2 separate regions of the Homo sapiens genome follow, and region 2 is linked to region 1. Evidence: promoter capture Hi-C in 16 types of primary human blood cells and fetal thymus (Javierre and others, 2016). All regions are on one chromosome and are shown on one strand. The core of a region is centred on a gene start or on the middle of the fragment in contact, and the rest is flanking DNA. Distances in the headings are between cores, read along the strand shown. Region 1 holds the start of KIFC3 (kinesin family member C3). Region 2 overlaps LOC105371291 (a long non-coding RNA gene).

What was found. The method cuts DNA at HindIII sites, captures the fragments that hold promoters and counts their contacts. A CHiCAGO score of 5 or more calls a contact.
Region 2: a contact is called between a fragment that was not itself captured here and the fragment with the promoter of KIFC3 in region 1, in 1 of 17 cell types (megakaryocytes). The highest score is 6.6, in megakaryocytes.

What each region holds. Positions count from the first base shown.
Region 1 is chr16:57,799,095-57,803,792 of GRCh38, reverse strand. It overlaps KIFC3 (kinesin family member C3), which reads left to right and starts at 1,302. Exons shown (of 20, transcript NM_001130100.2): 1 at 1,302-1,423. RefSeq lists enhancers at 329-1,005, 1,683-2,359. The HindIII fragment of the contact is 12,094 bases long and covers 1-4,099 here.
Region 2 is chr16:57,577,062-57,581,778 of GRCh38, reverse strand. The region is part of intron 1 of LOC105371291 (a long non-coding RNA gene); the gene reads left to right. ADGRG5 (adhesion G protein-coupled receptor G5) reads right to left here. Exons shown (of 12, transcript NM_001304376.3): 12 at 4,590-4,717. Among named protein-coding and RNA genes, the nearest start is that of ADGRG5, 37 kb to the right of the region's middle. The HindIII fragment of the contact is 1,810 bases long and covers 2,094-3,903 here.

The DNA of each region.
Region 1 (4,698 bases), core at 53-2,552:
TGGAAATCTAACTCTCTAGGGAATGATTCCAGGAGCGTTACATTCACCCTCTATCAGGCCTTCACTGAGGAATCTCAGTTGTCAAATAAAGCATGCACTAGGCTGCTTCCAGCTGGGGGACTGTGACTGTCCTGCTCTGGCGTCCAGAACAATCTGAGGCCCAGGCCCTTGGCTCCGTCGCTGGTCGAGATTCTTGACTGGCAGCCCAGCGCCTGGGCGGCAGCAGGAGATAGAACCCACCTGGAGTTGCCCGACCCCCTCCAGTCCTCTCCTTGATCTTCTTGGGCCATCCCCTGACAAGCAGGAAGGGACAGAGTACCCGCCCTCCTGGGATTATCTGCAGAACCGTCAGCCTGCATGGGCTGGCTTCAGAGTGACTTGCTTTCTCCTCTTCCGCACCCGGGGGTGTGGAGAGTGAGGGAGAATATTGCTGCTGGCTCTGGAATAAAATGCTGCCTCTGTTTGGGAGACAAAGAACAGAGTGGCTCCTCCAGGTCAGCTGTCTCTCCCGGCTGGCAGGCCCCTGGCCTCCCCCAGGCCTCTTCTGAGGCTCTAGGTGCCCCAGTAGCAGGGCCTTCTGCAGCAAGGCCGGGAACTGCTGCACCATTGGTGTGTTTTACCTTAAGGGACTCCAGGCAGCTTCCTTGCTGGGAAGATATTCATTTGCTGGGGTGGGGCTGGGGGTGCAGAGGTAGGAAGTGCTGTGGCTAGAAGGCGGCCTGGCCAGCGAGTAGGTGGTGGAGCGAGTGAGAGCGTGTGCGCTGTAAACAGTGTGAGTGCATGTGCGCCAGCGCGTGCAAGGACACGGTAAGGGATGTACATGTATTGTCTCGTGAGTAAGAGCTTGTGTGTGTGTTGGGATGGGAAGACACGTACTGGTATGAGAGCCCGCGTGAGAAGTGTATGTGTGAGTACTCGCGTGGAAGTTTTGCACTCGGGTTTGAGGCTGTGCAAAAGTACGCATGGCTCACCAGGTGTGGGGCTGTGTGGGCTGCCTCGTGTGTGCCAGCCCGTGTGCAGGCCTGTTTTGTGAGAGCCTTCAGGGAACGCATGAGCACGTGTGCCAGTGCGAGTGCGGGACGCGGGGAGGCGGGAGAGACCGAGTGGGAGGCCCCGCGAAGGAGTGGGAGTGGGAGTGGGAGTGCCGGCGGGAGACCTGCGGGGGCGCGCCCGGGCTGACGCGTGCGCGCCAGTGCGCGTGAGTGCGGGCGCGCGCCGCCGCCCCCCGCCGGGGTCGGAGCCGGTTGCCATGGGAACGCGCCGCGGCCCGAGTTAATCATTTCCTGTGGAAAGTGTGCGGGAGGGGCGCGAGCGGGCTGGCCGAGGAGGAGGCGGCGGCGTGGAGCTGCCTCCTGCCGGCGGGCCGGGCCGGGCCGAGCCCCGGGCGCTGCGGCGACGCCTGGATCCTGCCTCCGCCAGGCCGGTGAGTGGGGGGCCCGGGCGGGCTGGGTGCGAGCGGGGCGCTGGGCTCTGCCCGGCCCGCCGTTTGGGGCGCCGCGTCCGGGCCGGCCCTGCCCTCGGGACCCCTCTGCCCGGACCCGCTATGGGCGCGGGGAGGGAAAGGCCCGGGAGACCCAGCCCTGCGAGGTCCCCTCCAGCGCCGTTCAGCCCGAGTCGAGGACCTTGCTGGGAGCTGGGCACAGGGGCGGCGTGTCCCACGGGATCCGAGCAGCCTCGGGACCCCGTTTGGATTTTATTGAACGAGAAGAGCGCAGACCCTACCCGGGATGGGCTTGTCAATCGGCGCCGCCCTCTCCCCTTCCTGGCGTCTTCCCCACCCCCAGGGCTCCCTGGAAGGCTGCCTTTGGGTCCCTCCCACCACGTCCCTTGGGGAGTTCGCTTTTTCCCTGGCAGGGCCTGGGGCGGGGTGCGCCCGCCCAGAGGTTAGGAAGAAGGGCCTTGGCCGGTGCCCTCCGGGCAGTGAGGAATCGGGCCATTGACAGCCGCAGCAGTTGTGAGGGTCTCAGCAGGGAGGGCGATCCCAGGACCACCCCTTTAAGCCCAGCATTGCTAGTTAGAGCAGAACTCTGGCTGGTGCAGTGAAGGGCCTGGTCCTGGGAGATATTAAAGAGGAAGCTGTGTTTAATTAAATTCTGGAGTACCATTTACTGCCACCCAGCCCCCACCTCCATACCCCAACACTGTCTCAAGATTGCGGGTTGTGGCCACCCCTGGTCTTTCACCTTCCCCGGCTTTTCCTCTGCCTGAACAGGGTGAGCACCCATTCTTTCCCAGACGTGTATTCCCCATGCCCTTGTTAGAGTAGCCGTCTCCTTGACCAGGGAGAGTCATTTGCTAGGAATGCAGTCTCAGAATGGGGCCCTGCATTTGCAGTGAGTGGACTTTAGGGGCACAGGGTGGTGAGTTCTGCTGTTCACAGGGGCACCAGGGAGCAGAGGGTTTGAAATCTAGGTTGCCCTGGAAAGCCCAGGATAGATGATGGTGTGCAGGGAGGTGGCATTCCCTGTACAACTTCCTTGACCTTCTGCCTGCTCTCCCAGGGCGACCAAGCCCTGCTTGCTGCAGTCTCTGAGCAGCTGTCCAGCCTGTCCCCCCAGTCTTTGCAATGTCCCTGATCTAGGGCAGGGGGAGTATTGCAGCTCTGCTGTCCTGGTCTAAACCCAGAGAGGCAGAGACCCTCTTCCCCAGCCAGGCCCTCTGCATTCACCCACCACTGGAGCAAAGTAACTGAAAAATAAAATTTTGGAGCTCTTTGTATATGCCAGTATTGTTCTGAACACTTGGCCTTGTCTAATCTTTAGAGCAACCCTATAAGGTGGTGTTCTCCCCATTTTATAGATGGAGATAATGAAGTACGGAGAGGCAAAGTAATTCTCCCAAGGTCAGACATCTAGTAAACAGGGGAGCCAGGTTCTGAACCAGTCCCACTGCCCTCCCCCACGAATCCTAGGTTGGTAGAAGTCCCCGGACACCAGGTTTCATCTCAGATGCCCATGTAAATGAGAGAGAGTCCTGCTTTCTTGGCCCAGAACCCTGGGCTTAAGATTCCTTGATACTTTTGACCTTCACACCCCTGAGGCTGCTAAATTCAGCTGCTTTTTCCTCTTCGGGATCTAGCACACGCCCTTCCTCTTTCTTCCCGATATCTTCCTGGCTGCCTCCTCCACTTCCCTTCCTGATAACCGCAGAAACGCTATCTCCTCCTGTCCCTGCCCCTCAGACTGAGCTGAGCTGATCTCCCTGAAAGTCTTCTCTGTCCACTGTGGAGTCAGCCTCCAATGCCCTGCACTGTCTCACCTTCCCAGCAGCCGAGACTGCAGATGGACCTGCCTTGCTCCTTCCCTTGCCCATTGGACAGCTGGTCTGCAGGGTTGGTTGTGTGCCCAGCTCTGTGCCAGGCAGCCTGGAGAAGAGGACATTTGGCTGCTCCCCTTGGTTTCTTCCACGCCACACTGGTCCATCTCAGTTTCCTCAGTGGAGCTGGCCCACGTATTTAGATCAGCCTCTGCCCTGTCCTTTGGCCCACATTCCCATCCCCTTCCCAGTAAGACTGAACCTAGGAGCCTCCTAGTTGTTCTAAGTCAAGGAAGGAAGAGACCATGGCTTCCTCGCCAGGTGCCTGGCATTCTTCCAGGGTTGGGCTCTGCAAACATCAGACACCAGATCTTCAGGCCCCTAACCCCTGGACCCTTTACTTTATTATTTATTTATTTATTTATTTTTGCCTCTCAATGCTTTAGTCACTCCTGTCTCTCTGTCTCCCCAATATGCTCAACTCTCCCCCTATTCTAGACACCACATCCTCTCCTTCCCATCCTAGCCAAACACCCCCAAGGAGAAGGAAGTGGCTGCTTCCTCCCCCAGCTCCCGCCCCACTCTTTGAGCCCTCCGAAGTTTGCCATCTGCCCTTCTCCCTCCACAGGCTCAGGCTTTCTGCCTGTCTGGGCTTTCAGTCCTCCACGTCTCTTTGGCATGATGCACTGGGCACTGACCAACCTCTCCTTCCCACTTACACTTCAGTCACTTCTGAAAACTCTATACTTGCCTGGAGCTCCTGTCCCTCTCTCAGCTTCCTTCTGCAGCTTTCCACCCCGCAGTGAGCCCTGTTATCACATGGCTGTCTCCTCTTGCTCAAGCTTTGATGATTGCCTCCTCACCTGTGGCGTTGGTGGCCCTGTTTAGCTCTGAGTCTGTGTCCAGCCCTGACCTCTCTTCCAGGCTTCAGTTCAAGCTTTTGTGTGTGTTCATTTCAGAACGTTCACCCCACAAGCCATCCCAGAGTTCTTAGTGTGGGTGCAGCTGCAGACTGGGTGCAGTGGGGCTGCAAACATGAATGTGTGTGGGCCCATAGTGGGTCAGGGGAGGTGGACACCCTTCAAATAGCTATCTTCACTTCCTGGCAGGAAGTGGCCACTGCAGTGACGGATGGGGAGAGTAGTCGACAGCCCAGGAAGCTCCACTAGGAAGTCCTTCAGTTACCCCCACCTCAATCTTAAAACCCCATGTTGCCTCTCCAAGCTGACTTCGCTTCTTCTGTAAATGACATTACTGTCTGAGTCTGGGACTGTAGCATGATCACCTTAAATGTCCTCAAGGTTGCTTTGCACACAGTAGGTGCTCAATAAAGACTTCTGCAGGGAATACCTGAGCTCTGTTCATTTGTTCAGTTCATGAGGGACCTATCCCTGACTGAAGCTTTCTATCCCTGACCAATGCTCTCTGCCCCCCTCCATTCCC
Region 2 (4,717 bases), core at 1,749-4,248, 220 kb after region 1:
TCTTTGTTTTGTTTTGTTTATTGAGACAGAGTCTCGCTCTGTTGCCCAGGCTGGATGGAGTGCAGTGGCGCCATCTCTGCTCGCTGCAACCTCTGCCTCCTGGGTTCAAGCAATTCTCCTGCCTCAGCCTCCCGAGTAGCTGGGATTACAGGCGCCCACCACCAGGCCCAGCTAATTTTTGTGTTTTTACTAGTAGAGATGGGGTTTCACCATGTTTGGCCAGGGGGGTCTCAAACTCCTGACCTCAAGTGATCCACCCGCCTTGGCCTCCCAAAGTGCTGGAATTACAGGCGTGAGCCACTGCTCCCGGCCCTAAAGCTTTTCAATAAACTTTGACTCCTGCTCTGAAACTTACCTCAGTCTCTCCTTCTGCCTTATACCCCTCAGTCAAACTCTTTCTTCTGAGGAGGCAAGAGGTTGCTGCAGATCCAGACGGATTCACCAACGGTAACTCGGATACCTTCCACCAGTAACAGTTTTGCTGGACACTTCTTTTTTTTTTTTTTTTTTTTTCAGACGGAGTTTTGCTCTTGTCGCCCAGGCTGGAGTGCAGTGGCGCAATCTTGGCTCACTGCAACCTCTGCCTCCCAGGTTCAAGCGATTCTCCTGCCTCAGCCTCCCAAGTAGCTGGGATTACAGGCGTGCACCACCACACCTGGCTAATTTTGTATTTTTAGTAAAGACGGGGTTTCGTCATGTTGGCCAGGCTGGTCTCAAACTCTTGACCTCAGGTGATCTGCCCACCTCGGCCTCCGAAAGTGCTGGGATTACAAGCGTGAACCACAGCACCTGGCCCCTGCTGGACACACTTCTAAGTGGACATTTATTTGCTGTCATCACTTTAAAGCTATTACTGCTGCCTCCTAGCTTCTGTCACGGTGGTTGAGGAGCCAGCTCACGTTCTGTGGTCGTTGGTAGGCAATCTGTCCTTTCTCTTTGCCTGCTTTCATCGTTTCTCTCCCTCTGACATTCTGTAGTTTCAATAAAATGTGTATAAGCATGGATTTATGTATTATGCTTGAGATATTTCGTGTTTCCTGGTTCTGAGACTGTGTTTTTCCATCGCTTCTGGAAAACCTGCAGCCATTTCATCTTCAAATACCACCTCTTTCCCATTCCCTTTATTTTCTTCTTTTGGGACTCCAATATATAAGATCTTCTCATTCTTATTCTCTATATCTCTTAATCTCTTTTCATGTTATCCATCTTCTTATCTCTGTTGCATGCTTTATGTATATAAGTCCAGGCTTATTAATTGTCTCTCTCTCTCTTTTTTTTTTTTTTCTGTTGTTGTTGTTAAGACAAGGCCTGGCCCTATCACCCAGGCTGGGGTGCAGTGGTGCAATCTCGGCTCACTGCAAACTCTGCCTCCCAGGCTCAAACCATCCTCCCACCTTAGCTTCCTGAGTAGCTGGGACTACAGGCACATGCCACCACGCTGGGCTAATTAATTCTCTATTCAACTGTTTGTTTGTTGAATTTTAGATTTTGAGAGTTTTTTATGTTTTTTTTTTTAGTAGAGACAAGGTCTTGCTCTGCCACTCAGGCTTGAGTGCAGTGGAGTGACTACGGCTCACTGCAGCCGCAAACGCCTGGGCTCAAGCAATCCTCCCGCCTCAGCCTCCCAAGTAGCTGGAACTACAGGTGTGCCCCACCATGCCTGGCTAATTTTTTTGATTTTTATAGAGACAGGGGTCTTGCTATGTTGCCCAGGGTGGTCTCAAACTCCTGGCCTCAAGTGATCCTCCCGCCTCAGCCTCTTGAGTCACTAGGATTAAAGGCATGAGCCACCACATCCAACTTGAGATAATACTTTTTATTTCTTGAAGTTCCATTTGTTTTCCCCCAAATCTCTCTGTCTCTCTTCATTTCTATTCGTTTATATGCTCATCTTTGCGATTGCATCTTGTGTTTCTTTAAACGTGTCATATATGGCTATTCTGTATTCCGTCCCTGGGGTCTAAAATCTGTTGCTTCCTTCTTTTCTGCCGACTCTCACTCGGTGGCTTACTTTGTGATTTGGGTAAGTTTTATATTGAAGCCCATTGCTTCGTCTCACTCTGGGCATCCTCCTGGCCTAACCAAGGGAAGCTTACCTCCATATTGAGTTTGCTTCTCTCTTGCCAGTAGCAGGGGGCACCCCAACCCAGGACCACCTCAGCCCCCTCAGAGAGTTTTATCTCAGAGGTGGTTCAACTTCCCATCTTCCCCACCCCTAGCTCTTCCAAAGTTCACTATCAAGAAATGGAAAAATTGCTATAAGACTGGCTTTGGAACCAGCCCTCCCCTCCAGGCAACCTGCCAGTTCATGCCAGCTCTCTGACACTCTCCCACGCCCCCAGCTCCAGCGCCCCTGGGTTCATTCTCCAGCTCCCTCTGCTGAAACCCAGGCTCTTGGCCACTCTACTCCCTCACCCTCCTCAATTTTTCTTCTCAGCACTTGTCGCCACCTGTCATATCTTATGTCTATTTGTTAAACTGTTTAGTGTGAGACATTCCTCCCCCACAAGAATGTGATGACTTGTTCATTTATATATCCTCAGCAACTAGTACAGTGCCTGGAATATAACAAGTGTTTAACAATTACATGATGGGTGAATGAATGAGCCAATGAGACACAGCACCTGTCTCCAAAATGCCCTCGGTCTGGCAGCTGAGACAGATGGGGACAGTCATAATACAAAGAAATAACGTCTGTCATGGGGGAAGGGCGGGAGTGGTGGGGCTGAAAGGAGGCCCCACCCTAGATTTGAAGTCTGCATTGAGGGGAATGAGGATGTGCAAGGCTGAGATTTGAAGGATGTGTCGCCATCACTCCACAAATGAGACACACAGGGAGAGCCTTCCAGACAGAGAACAGCCCAGAGATGAGAAAGAACCTGTTCAGGGAACCGAAAGCTGTTCAGTGTGGCAGCACCGAGGAGGAGGGGGAAGGAGTGGTAAGACACGGCTGGAGAGGGGGACACAAGCCGGACCGTGGGCCTTTCAAGTTCCACTGGGGAGTGTGGCAATGAAGAGGGGGTGCTGTGGAAGGGCTTCCGCAGGGGTGGACACGGGCAGGCTGCAGGATGGAAAACACCCTCTGGCTTCTGGGTGAATTTGGAATTGGGAGTGGGGAGGCAGGGAGGTCCATGGCGCCTCTACAGGGGATGGGGGCTAGGTCTGCGCCAGGGCTGACAGCAGGGGTGGGGACACCCAAGGCAGACCCCTTGGGATTTCTGGTGGTGGCTTTGGCTGGCAATAGGAACACCTCAAGCTGAGTGGGCTGTGAATGAGGGGGACTCATCCAGTGGGCAGAGGGGCTTCCCCCTCAGCACAGCCTGGGTGGATTTAGAGAGTGAAGAGTCCACACCCCGGACTCCTGAGCCAATGCTCTTCTCATTAGAGCTTCCAGGTTTAGCAAAATCAAAATACATCAATAATAGGATACCCTGCTACATGTGAATCCAGGTAAACAATGAATAATGTTTTAGTACGTCTCCCAAATTGGGCATCTGATATTTTATCTGGCAACCCTATTTTCAATAGCCCCCCCATACACACACATGCACACACCCTTTTCTGAAATAACACTAACAAAACCACACACAGAAATCTCCTAATCTGTGGTCCTGTTGACATTTACATGGCATCCGTTCACCAAGTGCCTGCTCTGAGTCCCTGGCCCTGAACAACAGCCCCCAGACTCCACCCCATTCCATCCTCCTGCTAAGTCTGGAAGCTCCCAAGAGCTGGCCCCAGGGCCCCATCTGGGCTCTGCTGGGAGAGAGAGGAAGGGGGAAGAGGGGCCCTGCCTGGCTCCACACTATCTCCCTCAGTCCCTCCCCCACACCCAGTGAGACATTTCCAGGAAGTGGTCCCTGCCCAGGGCCTGGACCCCAGTGGGGCTCAGGGCCACAAGCTTGGGGCTGCTTCCTGGAACTGCCAGTCTCCTCCCGTGTCGCTGTGGCCACATCCTCCCTCGGGCAAGCCCTGGGCTTGGTGGGGTCTGAGAGGCTGGGTCCTGGGCTGGGGGGCTCTATGCAGACCCAGCCACAGCAGGAGCCTGTGTCCCCACTCCCTGGGGCTGCCCAAGAGAAGGGCTAAAGGTTCCCATAATTCCTCGGGACCCTCATTAGCAAGGGGACCCCCTGCCCCAAGGCCTGGAGAGCCTGGGCTTAACCATGGGAGCTTGGATGGGTGCTCACATCACCCAGATGGTGGCAGGGGTGGGGAGAATCTGCCTGGAGTTAGCGTGGGAAAGAGGCCTTCTCTAGGCACCGCTGGGGCAATTTTGTAGATGTGATAAATGACCACCAGGAATTTCTATAGACCGGAAGATTGGGGAACTGGGAGGTCGGGGGACATGTGGCATGGCCTGGAGGCTGCACTGTGTGGGGACTATTCCTAGAACAGCAGAAAGTCAGCGAGGTGGGAGTAGAGACCCGTCTGGGGAAAGAAACTGAGGCATGGTGAGATGTGCCTAAGAAGGGGTTGTGCCTACAAGGTTGAGCAGAGCTGGGCCTGGGGCTTAGACAGGCTGGCCTCTGAAACTCAGTTAACACTGTTAACAATAATAGCAAAAATACTAATGATAATACCAGTAACCATTTACTGAGCACTTACTCTGTGCCAAGTCTCTTTATTTGAATTCTTTTACTTAGTCTTCAAAATAGGTACCACTATGGCCTCTATTTTACAAATAGGAAAACTGAGGCACACAGAGGCTGAGTGGTTT